2 separate regions of the Homo sapiens genome follow, and region 1 is linked to region 2. Evidence: promoter capture Hi-C in 16 types of primary human blood cells and fetal thymus (Javierre and others, 2016). All regions are on one chromosome and are shown on one strand. The core of a region is centred on a gene start or on the middle of the fragment in contact, and the rest is flanking DNA. Distances in the headings are between cores, read along the strand shown.

Region 1 (5,374 bases), core at 274-2,773, 4.0 Mb before region 2:
GATGACTTGTTTTTTTCCCCTTTATTCTTAATGCCAGGATCCCATTCCTTGTCATAAATTCTTGAATATCAAGAAAATGCCAGCTTTAGTAATATATTGTGTGCTACATTATTGATAAAGAAGGTGGTGTATTTCTATTTTACCTAAGCTTATCTGTAAAAACAATGTTTACAGGAGAAAATGCAAAAGCTAGCAAGAACTAGTGATGTGATAATTTTAAACATGTAAACATAGTCATTTAAATCCATGATAATAAACTGTTATAACACAACTAAGTGATTCGCTGTCATATTTAATAAACATTAAGCTATGCGGGTTTTTTTTTCTTTTTTTTTAACTGCCTGATGGGGAGCATACACCACTGAGAGGATTGCTTTAAGCACACTCATTACTAAAAATTGTGTTTGTATTACACCTGAAAGTATCGTTTTGTGAGGTCTCACTTCAAAAATAAGACTGAAAAGGTCAATGAGATTTGAGAATCATCATTTCTTTTTATTTTATATACTTTGCACTTCTACGTGTTTTTGCTTTAATTTAAACACAGCTCAAACTTGAGCTTCTGTAGTAGTGGGCCCATCAATTTTTTTTTTTTTTTTTTTTTTTGAGCTGGAGTCCTGCTCTGTCGCCTGGGGATGGATTGCAATGGCAACATCCGCCTCCCGGGCTCAAGCAATTCTCCTGCCTCAGCCTCCCGAGTAGTTGGGATTACAGGCGCCCACAATCACACTCGGCTCCTTTTTTTTTTTTTTTTTTTTCAGTCGAGGAGGGGTTTCACCATGTTGGCCAGGCTGGTCTCAAACTCCTGACCTCAAATGATCCGCCCGCCTCGGCTTCCCAAAGTGGTGGGATTACAGGCGTGAGCCACCGCGCCCGGCCTGTTTTTGTTTTTTTAAACTTGTTTTACTTGTAGCTTTTGTTTCATCATCTGTGATTTTTAAATAAAAATAAATACTGAGTATCCAATTAGCTTTTCTAACAAAGAATAAATACTTGGAATGCAGATATTGAAACCATTTAGATTAAAACAAGCACAGGTATTGTTTGCTGTGAAAATTCAGTAATTTTATTTCATACTTGGTAACATGTTAGCCATTTGCGCTGTCGATCACTGTTAATTATGAGGTCGGGTTTAGCTGAAGGCATTATGACTCCATGGCAACAGATGATTCCCTGATTCTCCAGAGAGATTACACACTTCGTTTGTGGCTAAGGTTACTGTAAGCTTTTCACTTAAAAACTTTTCCTACTTCTTTACCAGATAAGAAAACAGCTAATTTTAATCACTGGCTTTTGTTCTCTAGGACTTAACTGCATCCCATATTACGTATTTAATGAGCTTGAAAAAATCTCAGTGTTTTTCTTATCGTTTTTGACCCTAAATATTTAAGGTAATTGGCTGCTATCTATCTGTTGAGGGGCATGTTTTTTTGTTTTGTTTTGTTTTGGTTAAATCTATATTATTGTAATAAAATAGGGTACAATTTTCAGCCAAATACTGTTGTTTTATGAAAAGCATAAAACACAAGATAAGTTATAAAATTCAAAATGTTGAACATATGATGTAGGAGAGAATTTAGGCAGGTTTAAATTTTAATCTTTAAGAAAAGTAAGTGTTTGTGATTTTTCATACTTATAAACTGTGTTGAACTTCTTATTTTGTACAATAGGTTGATATGCACATGGATTAAGGGTTTCACGTTTATATTTTACCATTTCATGATTCCCTGGCTTTCAGCCTCAGTAACAAATATGTTTTTTTTCAGTATTTGGTTGGGAAAAACTTTTCAATCAATATAAATCCTTTACCTTTCATGGAAAGAAGCTTGAAAATATAAACCATAATTTGGGTTTTGCCCATCAAGGTTTGCATATTTTAATAGTGCCAGTTGATAAGGAATTTGGTTATAAATTATAAAGAAATAATAGTAGCTAGTATTTATTTAAGGACTTAATATGTGACAAGCTTTTTTCTGTATGGCACACTACATGGTAGGTACAGTTATTATTGTCTCCATTTTATTATATAAGTGAGGAAACAGATATGCAGAAAAGTTTTTTATAGCTACTAAGAATCAGAACCAGTATATTTGCACCCAGGTGGTCTGGCTCAACAGTCTCGGCTCTAATCTATTACTTTATAATTCTTGTTTTATAAATATTCTTGCTAGGCACATGTATGGAATCTAGTTAAGATTCTTAGTTCCTTTGCCCTGGATATAAGTATACATAAAAACTTCTGTGCTTGCTTTATTTATGAGTTTGGTTAGATTCCATTTATACTTTTCCCGATTCACCTCACAAAGGTGATCTTATTTCTTCATTTTAATTTATACTTAGTTGGTCCTTAAAATAGAGTTATTAATTTGGAAAAGAAAGAATGGTGTCATGAAGAATGAGATACACATTGTACCAAGACTAAAGTTATTAATAATACTCTCAGACAGTGATTTCTGACATTCATATATGTACATTCATTCCTTGAACTAAAGTTTCAGTTCATTAAGCACTGGAGATGTTATAGTGTTAGGTGATAAGAGCTATGAAGAAAAAGGGAAGCTAGGTAAGAGGCTAGGGTGTGCTTTTTCAATTCAGGCAGTCAGGAGAGGCTGTTCTGAGTTAATATTTATGCAGAAAAATCAATGAAATGAGGGAGCAAGCCCTGTGAATCTCTTGGAGAAAAGCATTCTAGGCAAAGCAATAGCAAGTACAAATATTCTCAAGTGGCACCTTCCAAAAACAGCAAGGACAGCTATGGCTGGAAGGGAGTGAAGAAGGATAAGAGATGAGGTCAGAAAGGGATAGCTAGGGTCACAGTAGGCCTATAGGCCATAATAGGAAATTTGGATTTTATTTTGAGTGTGCTGAAGAGCCATTGGATGGTTTTGAGCACGAGACATCTGATTTATGTTTTTAAGGATCACCCTGTTGTTGGAGAATGGACTGTTTTATGGAAAGTGGAGGAAAATAGTTAATAGGCTTTTGCAGTAGTCCTTGTAAGCACTGGCGATGACTTAGATTAAGGTGGTAGTGGTAGAGGTGCTGAGGAGTTGGATTTAGCATATACTTCAAAGGTAGAGATGGCAGGGTATGAGAGAGAGAAAAAAAGAAGTTGAGTGGGACTTTTGAGTTTTTGGCCTAAGCATCTGGGTAATTGGTGTTGCCATTTTACCAGGAAGTAGAACACGAAGGGAAGGGGAGCAGGTTTAGAAAAACATCCACATGGAGATGTCAAGTAGAATATAGTAGTCTGGAGTTAGAGGAGAAGATACGGCTGGGATATACATGTAAGAGTCAGATCATATTTAAAGCTATGGCACTGGAGATCACCCAGAACAGTGCTGTCATATTGTGAGTTGTGCCCCATTAATGAGTCAGGAAATCAATGTAATGAGTAACAACCAGCATTTAAAAAAACAAGCACAGAGTAAAAAATATCAGATTTATCCCATATTGTAGGATAAGTATTGCTTCATGACATTTTTGTTTCTATTTTATTCAGTGTATTGTGTGTTACATTATAAAATATATACCTAATTGTGTGGCATGCTCAAAAGTTTGAAAGCCAGTATTCGAAGGATGGAGTGTGGATTGAGCAGAGAGCAAAACACTGAGCTGTGGGTCACTGAGACATCTGCAGAGTAGCCAATGAAAGGAATCAGGAAAGAATTGCCAAAGAATTTAATCCAGTGCAGAAACTTGTCAAATAACCCAGCCTTTGGAATGGAAGTTTATATCAAGGATTACTGAAACCAGCATACTTGCTTAGAATAACATAATATCTGACAATTTTCACTTTGGTAAAATTGCTTCAATTTATGAAATTTTATTTATAAATAGTACTGTTATATTAGAACAATACCTATTCTTAAATGTCTCTAAATAAGATCTTTTATGAATTTAATTAATACTTTTGGACTGATGTACAATTCTCATCTCTATAATGGAAATAAAATACTTTTAAGGATTGTGAGCATTAGAAGTAATGCACATGTTCTGTGTGCTTAGCACATAGTAGGTGGACAATAAAATGTATGTAATATTTAAAACTTTATTTACCTAACATTTGTTGAGCTCCTATCAAATTGTAGTCACAAAGATAACTTATTTGAAAAAACAAAAAACAAAACACAGGTTAATCATTTGCAGCAGTTATGCACTTTTTGGTCTTCATTATATAATATATAATTTATCTAATATATAATGTTATGTATACATAATGCCATAGATCTTGACTTGAATTTTGATCACAAAATTTTCAAGCTTTATTTTTTCTGGACTGTGGAGAAGTATGCTTGTTTTTAATATGTTTACTGTTTATCTCTCATTCTCTGTGTTTTATCAAGGCTAAGATATATTCATTAGAATGAAAGTGAAAAAAAAAAACCAGATCTGAATGCCTAAATATTAAACCTATGACTAATTCCACCATTTAAAAATATATTAGAACATTCCTGAGTAATGAAATCAAAGACATAATCTTTTCTTTTTACCCATTTATTCATTCGGCAAGATTCCCAAGCAAATTGGCACGTCCAGGAAAGAGATGCACACTCTATTTAATATCCTGAAGTTTGTGGTTTTGTCTGCTACTTTCTCACTCCCTCTCTGCAGAGTGGCACCTGTCAAAGCTGAGAAAGAGTAAATTACTCTATTTCTGTGCTTGGCAGGAATGTAATATGGAGTAACAAGAGCTGTGCCGCAGAAGCCCTGGAGACAGAAGTTGATTCTATAGTACCTACCTTCTTAAAGCTCGTGACAGAAAATTAGCGAACTAAGGCATTCTGAAGCTAGAAAAGAAAAAAGAGGAAGGATTTTTTTTTTTTTGCCTGTGATATTTGCATACTTGGAGCAAATACTGGTTCTACTCTCTAAAAAGGCACAGTGCAAGCCAAAAACATCACATTTGTACAGGTTTACAAATATTTAATATTTATTTTAAAAATTATATTAGTACATAATAGGGAGACATTATTCAAGGAGAGTAATTTTTTTTTTTATTCTAAGATCATTAAGTAACATTTTTAATCTCCCAGGGGGAAAACCAACATCTATATTAAAAAAAATACGTTAAGAATCAACAGTACTTTGTTGCATTTTCTCTCAGGCATCTCATTAATTTTTAGATATCACCATGGGCAGGTTATTGCTATTCTGTTTTGCTGACATTTAGCATTTTATTAAGTGCTAACAGTGAGAAGAGTTTATAGAATATGTCTAAAATCCTATTTTCATATTCTTATGTGCCTTACAACGTGGCAAATATAGGCATACTTTTTAAAAGAATATTTCTACATATCTTAAAAGCTATTAAATAGCATGGCTTTGTTTCCAGTTTTTTAAAAAGTGTTAGGATGAGCCTCGTAATTACTAT
Region 2 (5,946 bases), core at 531-3,030:
CAGAGATTTTTGTCTGTTTTATTAACTGCTGAATCTCAAATTAGAACAACATCTGAAGCACAGTTGGGACTCAAATATTTGTATAATGAATAGGAATGACTAAGTAAAACTGTAACATTTGCTTTAGGAAAGGCAACTATTTGATCCTTAAATTATGCACTTAATCCTCCGAACAAGTTCTACAAGAATAAAAACATCTTCATGAAGCATACGTTTAGGTGGTAACGTTTAGGCACAAATTTAAGAAGCAATGCAACATGTCTCAGCACCTGTTCAGCGCTTTAAAGTATACAAGATACAGTTCATCCTTTACTTCTATTAACATAAAACTAGAAATTATCTTGAAAATTGCAGGCAGCATGTGGCATCATAGGTTTACATGATACCAGTTCCTTTTAAGTTCACCTATACAATCAGGTTCCAACAATGAAGTCACTGGATCCCCGATTATTTTCCGCTGCCAGCATAATGAGACTCTAACCTTGGCTAATCTTATTGGAAACATGATCTCCCAACTGCTCTCTTAACATTTTCAATTTCCAAACAAAAGTCCAATATTTTTCTGACCTATTAAAATATTTAAGCACTCAAAAATGTGCTACAAAAGAACTATCTCTGCCTGAAATACTGAGTTGATTAGTACTCATACCGCCACCAAACAAATTCTCAGGTTCAAAGAGAAAGTTCAAAAAATATTAAAAGAGTAAATGAAGATAACTGTATTAACGTTAACCAACAATGAGGAGGAGGCGGGTCACTGATATCTAAGGAAAGAAGAGTTATCGGAACCCTTTCTCAACACTCGAGTACACCAAAAGTCTGTACAAAGGTCGCAAGTTATTGTCTATGGGTTTGCAGAAAAAAAACCATTTAATATCAATTATAGAGAAAGTTAATACGGCATGGTTTTTAAATTCTCAGTTTGCTTCGCATGTTCATCCAATTTACAGAAGCAAAAATGAGCTAAAACCAGTCTGTTCCACTCTATTCCCATGATTCCTACGTCAGTAAGTTCTTCGGCAACTTGGTGCAATTGAGGGGGGGAAAAGGTAATTCAGAAGCAATGCAAATGGGACGGGGGGTACACCTCTCCGTTAGAATGTGACCTCTCACATTCTAACAATAGTGGTGCGAACTTGTACCCAGCTTGCTCAATCACTAGAACGGCAAGATTCTAGCAGTGGTTAAGTTTTTCCACAGCCGAAGGACACCGTCAAGGTCTGCCTTGCATCTGTCACTCACACCTCCAGGATCTCCGTCACCCCAATCCCCCGAAAGCACGAGCCCTCGCTGGGCCCGGGTGCCCCCTCACCGTCACTGCATTTATACTGGCAGAGACCGTCCTCGCCTCCCAGGAGGTCCAAGGCGGCGTTCAGGTACGTGTCTATCTTATGAACGCCGTTCCGGATGGTCTTCAGGGTGGCTCTCCAGTCGGTGGTCTGGGCCTGCTCCTGGCACCTGACAACAGCGGCCATGAGGAGGAGCAGGAGGGTGAGCGCGGGGCGCGAGAGCAGGGCCATGCGCGCAGCGCCGGGCTCTACGGGTCCCCGAGCCGCGGCGCGGGGCGCGTCCCCACAGAGTCCCCAGGACGCGCTAGGCAGCGGCGCGGGCCCCGGACTTGGCAGCAGCCAGCTCCATATCCACGCCTCCTTCCCGGCTGGCCCTCAGGATCTCGCTGTCTTTACGTGAACCGCCTCGGGCAGGCAGCGCCGTCGCGGGGACGCGCCCGCTCACCTGGACCAGCGCGCCCGCTCACCTGGGCCAGCAACCGTCCCCTGTGCGCCTGCGCCGGAGCACGGCGCGTCAGCGGCGCACGGGAGGGGCGGGACGCGCAGGGGTGGGGCGGGGCGGGGGCGGGGTTGGGGGGGGCGGGGAACCGGGGGAGGGGCGCGCGGGGCGGGAAACGGGGGCGGGGCCTCCATGCCCACGTGGTCTCCGCGGCACCCTCCCAAGACCCTTGGTCCTGGTTCACAAGAGAACCTTAAAAAGTACCCAGGCCTGAGCCCCTTTTCTAGGGAGCCTGATTACGTTGTCCCAGGTGGCAGTGGGCGTCGGTATTTTTTAAGAAAGCTCTCCGGGCTGTTAACCGTGAAGCAAGAGTTGCAGAGCTAACCCCGGTGGCCTAACCTGACCAGTCGGGGCTCAGCACAGTAGCCCCGAGAGACAAGCTTTTCTGGGTGTGGACAACATCGGAGAAAATAACCCCTGTGCCCCCTCGCAGAGAGCGCTGCGAGAGGTCCAGCTGAGTTTCCGGCTTGAAGACGTGGTTCCATTGGCAATGTGGGCAGAGTCCGGCTGTCAGCTCGCAGAGCAGGGCTTTTCCTCCTTGCGTCCTCTCCCGGTCCTCCAGATCTGCTGTGGCCGCGGTTGGGGGAGCGGGATCTGGAAGATGCCAACCCATGCCTTGGCGGTGCCTGACTCTAATCAGGACGAGCTAAATGCTAGTTTAGACTTTCCGGAAAAAGAAAATGGGCCAACATAAAAATCATAAAATTCTCCCCTGGTAAGGAAGAAACAGTAGTGTAAACTTAAATACAGTAAAAAGTAAAATAAATCTTAAGGAAGTCATTGTTTTTCTACTCAAGGGATTTTGTAACTTGATAGTTACAGTGACGTTTGTTTCTCTGTACCTACCACCCTGCCCCCAGCATTGTGCGGGATCCATAAATAACTATTGCAGTAGTACTTTGTATCAGTTGTAAATATCTGGTTATCTTAGTATCACAGCAGTTTCCAAGAATTTTACAGTAAGATCCAGAGCAATGTTGAAAGTATTGGGCAGACCAAGCGCGGTGGTTTACGCCTGTAATCCCAGCACCTTGGGAGGCCTGGAACTCCTGAGGTCAGAAGTTCGAGACCAGCCTGGCTGACATGGTGAAACCCCATCTCTACCAAAAATACAGAAAATTAGCTGGGCGTGGTGGCGGGCACCTGTAATCCCAGCTACTCGGGAGGCGGAGGCAGGAGAATCACTTGAACCCAGGAGGTGGATGGATGTTGCAGTGAGCTGAGATTGCACCACTGCACTCCAGCTTGGGGCACAGAGCGAGACTCTAAAAAAAAAAGAAAGTGAGTAAGTATTGGGCATAGGTGTGTCCTTTCTATAAGAATTACCAATAAGTTCTAGGTTTGGCCTTTTGTGTTTGTTACAAACTAAATGAGCTTATAATAAACGTTCAGTGCACAGTTCATAAAAATTACATCCCTCTTTATTGAGTGCTTACTATGTGCCAGGCACTTCATGAATATGATCGCTCACATTCAGAACACTACTTTACAAGGATGCAGACTTTGGGCAAGTTAGAAACATAGAAAGGCATTCCTCCCTACAAACAGGGTAGCCCAACAAACGGTGTAGCTCCTGGCTGGAGACTGCCTGCACTTCACTCAGCCCCTCAACCAGGAGTCTTGGGCAGTGATTAATTCCTACCACAATGGAGAAGGGGGAAGAATGTTCCCTGGAAGGTATTATTATCTTCCTCTTTTACAATAAAAGAGTCGAGGTGAGAAGTCATGTGACAGTATCTACTCCAAACCAAGGCCTCTGTCTTCACAAAATACCACAGATATTTTTATTTTTTAATTTTTAGACAACACATTTCAATACATTTTAAAAAGGGAACTTAGAATCATTGTCTTAGCTTTCTGGAACATTGGTTTCTCAGCTCCAAAGTATGAAAGTTGGACTAGATTACCTCTGAGATACCACCACCTGAATCCTTAAACCAGGCTTGGTTCTTACAACTCCCTAGTCCAGGGACAAGACTTTCAAAAGAAAGGATAGAATGTAATAAAATAACCTAGTTCCAGCCCTCAGTTATGACCCAAAGCCTCTCCTTTCCCCCACTTTCTCTATTTATTTACTTCTTTGTGATCTCATCTAATTTCTTACACCTTAACTACAGCCTATACTCTGAGGAATCAGACGTAGTTTTCTTTGTCTGATCTCTCCTTAGGGATTAAATTCTCAAATGCCAGTTCTTCTGGCTTGATGCAGCTGTTCTCTTTCTCTCAAGCAAATCTTTCCACTGTCTTCCCCATGAGAATCACCACCATTTTTGTAGAAAACAAGACTCTAAGTTTTATTTTCACATTCTTTTCACATTTAATCATTATATATTTGTTGTTCTGCTGCAGTAATTACAAGGTTTACGTTTTCCTCTTAATTGATGCTGTTAAATACCAGGGATCTGCACTGACCACAGACTATCTGTATAATTTGTAGGGCTCAGTGCAAAATAAAAATACAGAGCCCCTTGCTCAAAAATTAAGAATTTCAAGGTGATGGCCGGGTGCGGTGGCTCACGCCTGTAATCCCAGCACTTTGGGAGGCTGAGATGGGCAGATCACGAGGTCAGGAGATCGAGACCATCCTGGCTAACACGGTGAAACCCTGTCTCTACTAAAAATACAAAAAGTTAGCTGGGCATGGTGGCGGGCACCTGTAGTCCCAGCTACTCGGGAGGCTGAGGCAGGTGAATGGCGTGAACCCGGGAGGCAGAGCTTGCAATGAGCCAAGATCGTGCCACTGCACTCCAGCCGAGGCCACAGAGCAAGACTCTGTCTCAAAAAAAAAAAAAAAAGAATTTCAAGGTGATAACAGCAGAGCATTAAAATAAGTACAGAGCCCTTTTGACTGTGGGGCCTTGTGCCACTACACAGGATGCATGCTCTGATTTACCATATCATATAAATTTTTTTTTTTTGAGTCTGGCTCTGTTGCCCAGGCTGGAGTACAGTGGCACAATCTCAGCTCACTGCAACCTCCGCCTCCCAGGTTCAAGCTATTTTCCTGCCTCAGCCTCCCGAGTAGCTGGGATTACAGGTGCCCGCCACCACACCTGACTAATTTTTTGTATTTTTAGTAGCAATGGGGTTTCACCAAGTTGGCCAGGCTGGTCTCGAACTCCTGACCTCAAGTCATTCCCCTGCCTTGGCCTCCCAAAGTGCTGGGATTACAACATGAGCCACTGTGCCCAGCTCATCTCACGTAACTTCTAGATGACCCACTTCCATCTTTTCTTCCCAAATTTTGGCATAAACTGTTTGAAAAGAGCCTTCTTTACAGGACACTTTCATCTAACCAGCAAAACCTGTTATTTTCATGACAGACATCATTAGTTGCAAATCCACAGCTGTGTTCCAGGTCTTTCCTGCTAGAGAGTGGCTAGCTTGTCTATATATACTTTGTGGTGGGCAGAAGCTGAAGATAGGAAGTCAGTTATGATACAGTAATCTAGGTATGGCATAAGTATGGCTTGGTCCAGGAAAGGAGCAGTGGAGGTGTGAAAAGTGGTCATATTCTAGATGTAACTTGATGGTAGAGCAGAAGGGATTTGCTGATGGACTGAATATGAGAGAAAAAGAGGAATCAAGGATGGCATTGAAATTTTGGCCTAAGCCACAGGATAGAGAGAGTTCTAACTGTCAGAAATGGGGAGAATTGTGGAAGGAGAGGGTTTTGCGGGAAAATTTTAAAAATAAATTTCAGTCATACCATATCCAAGAAGCTTATTCTGAGTCTGCAGTTCAGCATAAAGGTTAGAAACGCATTGGGAAGTTGTCAGAATAGAAATGGCTTTTAAAGTCATGGGGCTTAGCTGGGCGCAGTGACTCATGCTTGTAGTCCCAGCACCTAGGGAGATCAAGGCTGGCAGATCGCCTGAGTCCAGGAGTTCAAGAGCAGCCTGGGTAACATAGCAAAACCTTATCTCTATAAAAAAAATACAAAAATTAGCCAGGCATGGTGGTACATGCCTGTAGTCCCAGCTACTTGGGAAGCTGAGGTAAGAGGATCCTTTGAGTCCGGAATGCAGAGGTTGCAGAGAGCCAAGATTGCGCTATTGCACTCCAGCCTGGCAACAGAGCAAGACCCTGTCTTAAATAAATGAATAAATAAATAACATGGGACTAAATGAGATCCTCTAAAAAGTGAGTGTACACAAA

What was found. The method cuts DNA at HindIII sites, captures the fragments that hold promoters and counts their contacts. A CHiCAGO score of 5 or more calls a contact.
Region 1: a contact is called between a fragment that was not itself captured here and the fragment with the promoter of PLA2G12A in region 2, in 1 of 17 cell types (fetal thymus). The highest score is 6.1, in fetal thymus.

What each region holds. Positions count from the first base shown.
Region 1 is chr4:105,709,650-105,715,023 of GRCh38, forward strand. The region is part of intron 1 of GSTCD (glutathione S-transferase C-terminal domain containing); the gene reads left to right. Among named protein-coding and RNA genes, the nearest start is that of GSTCD, 3.6 kb to the left of the region's middle. The HindIII fragment of the contact is 600 bases long and covers 1,224-1,823 here.
Region 2 is chr4:109,728,290-109,734,235 of GRCh38, forward strand. It overlaps PLA2G12A (phospholipase A2 group XIIA), which reads right to left and starts at 1,781. Exons shown (of 4, transcript NM_030821.5): 1 at 1,313-1,781. The coding sequence starts at 1,520. It also overlaps a transcript of CFI not described here. RefSeq lists enhancers at 1,170-1,239, 1,899-2,775 and a silencer at 1,570-1,909. The HindIII fragment of the contact is 6,805 bases long and covers 1-2,166 here.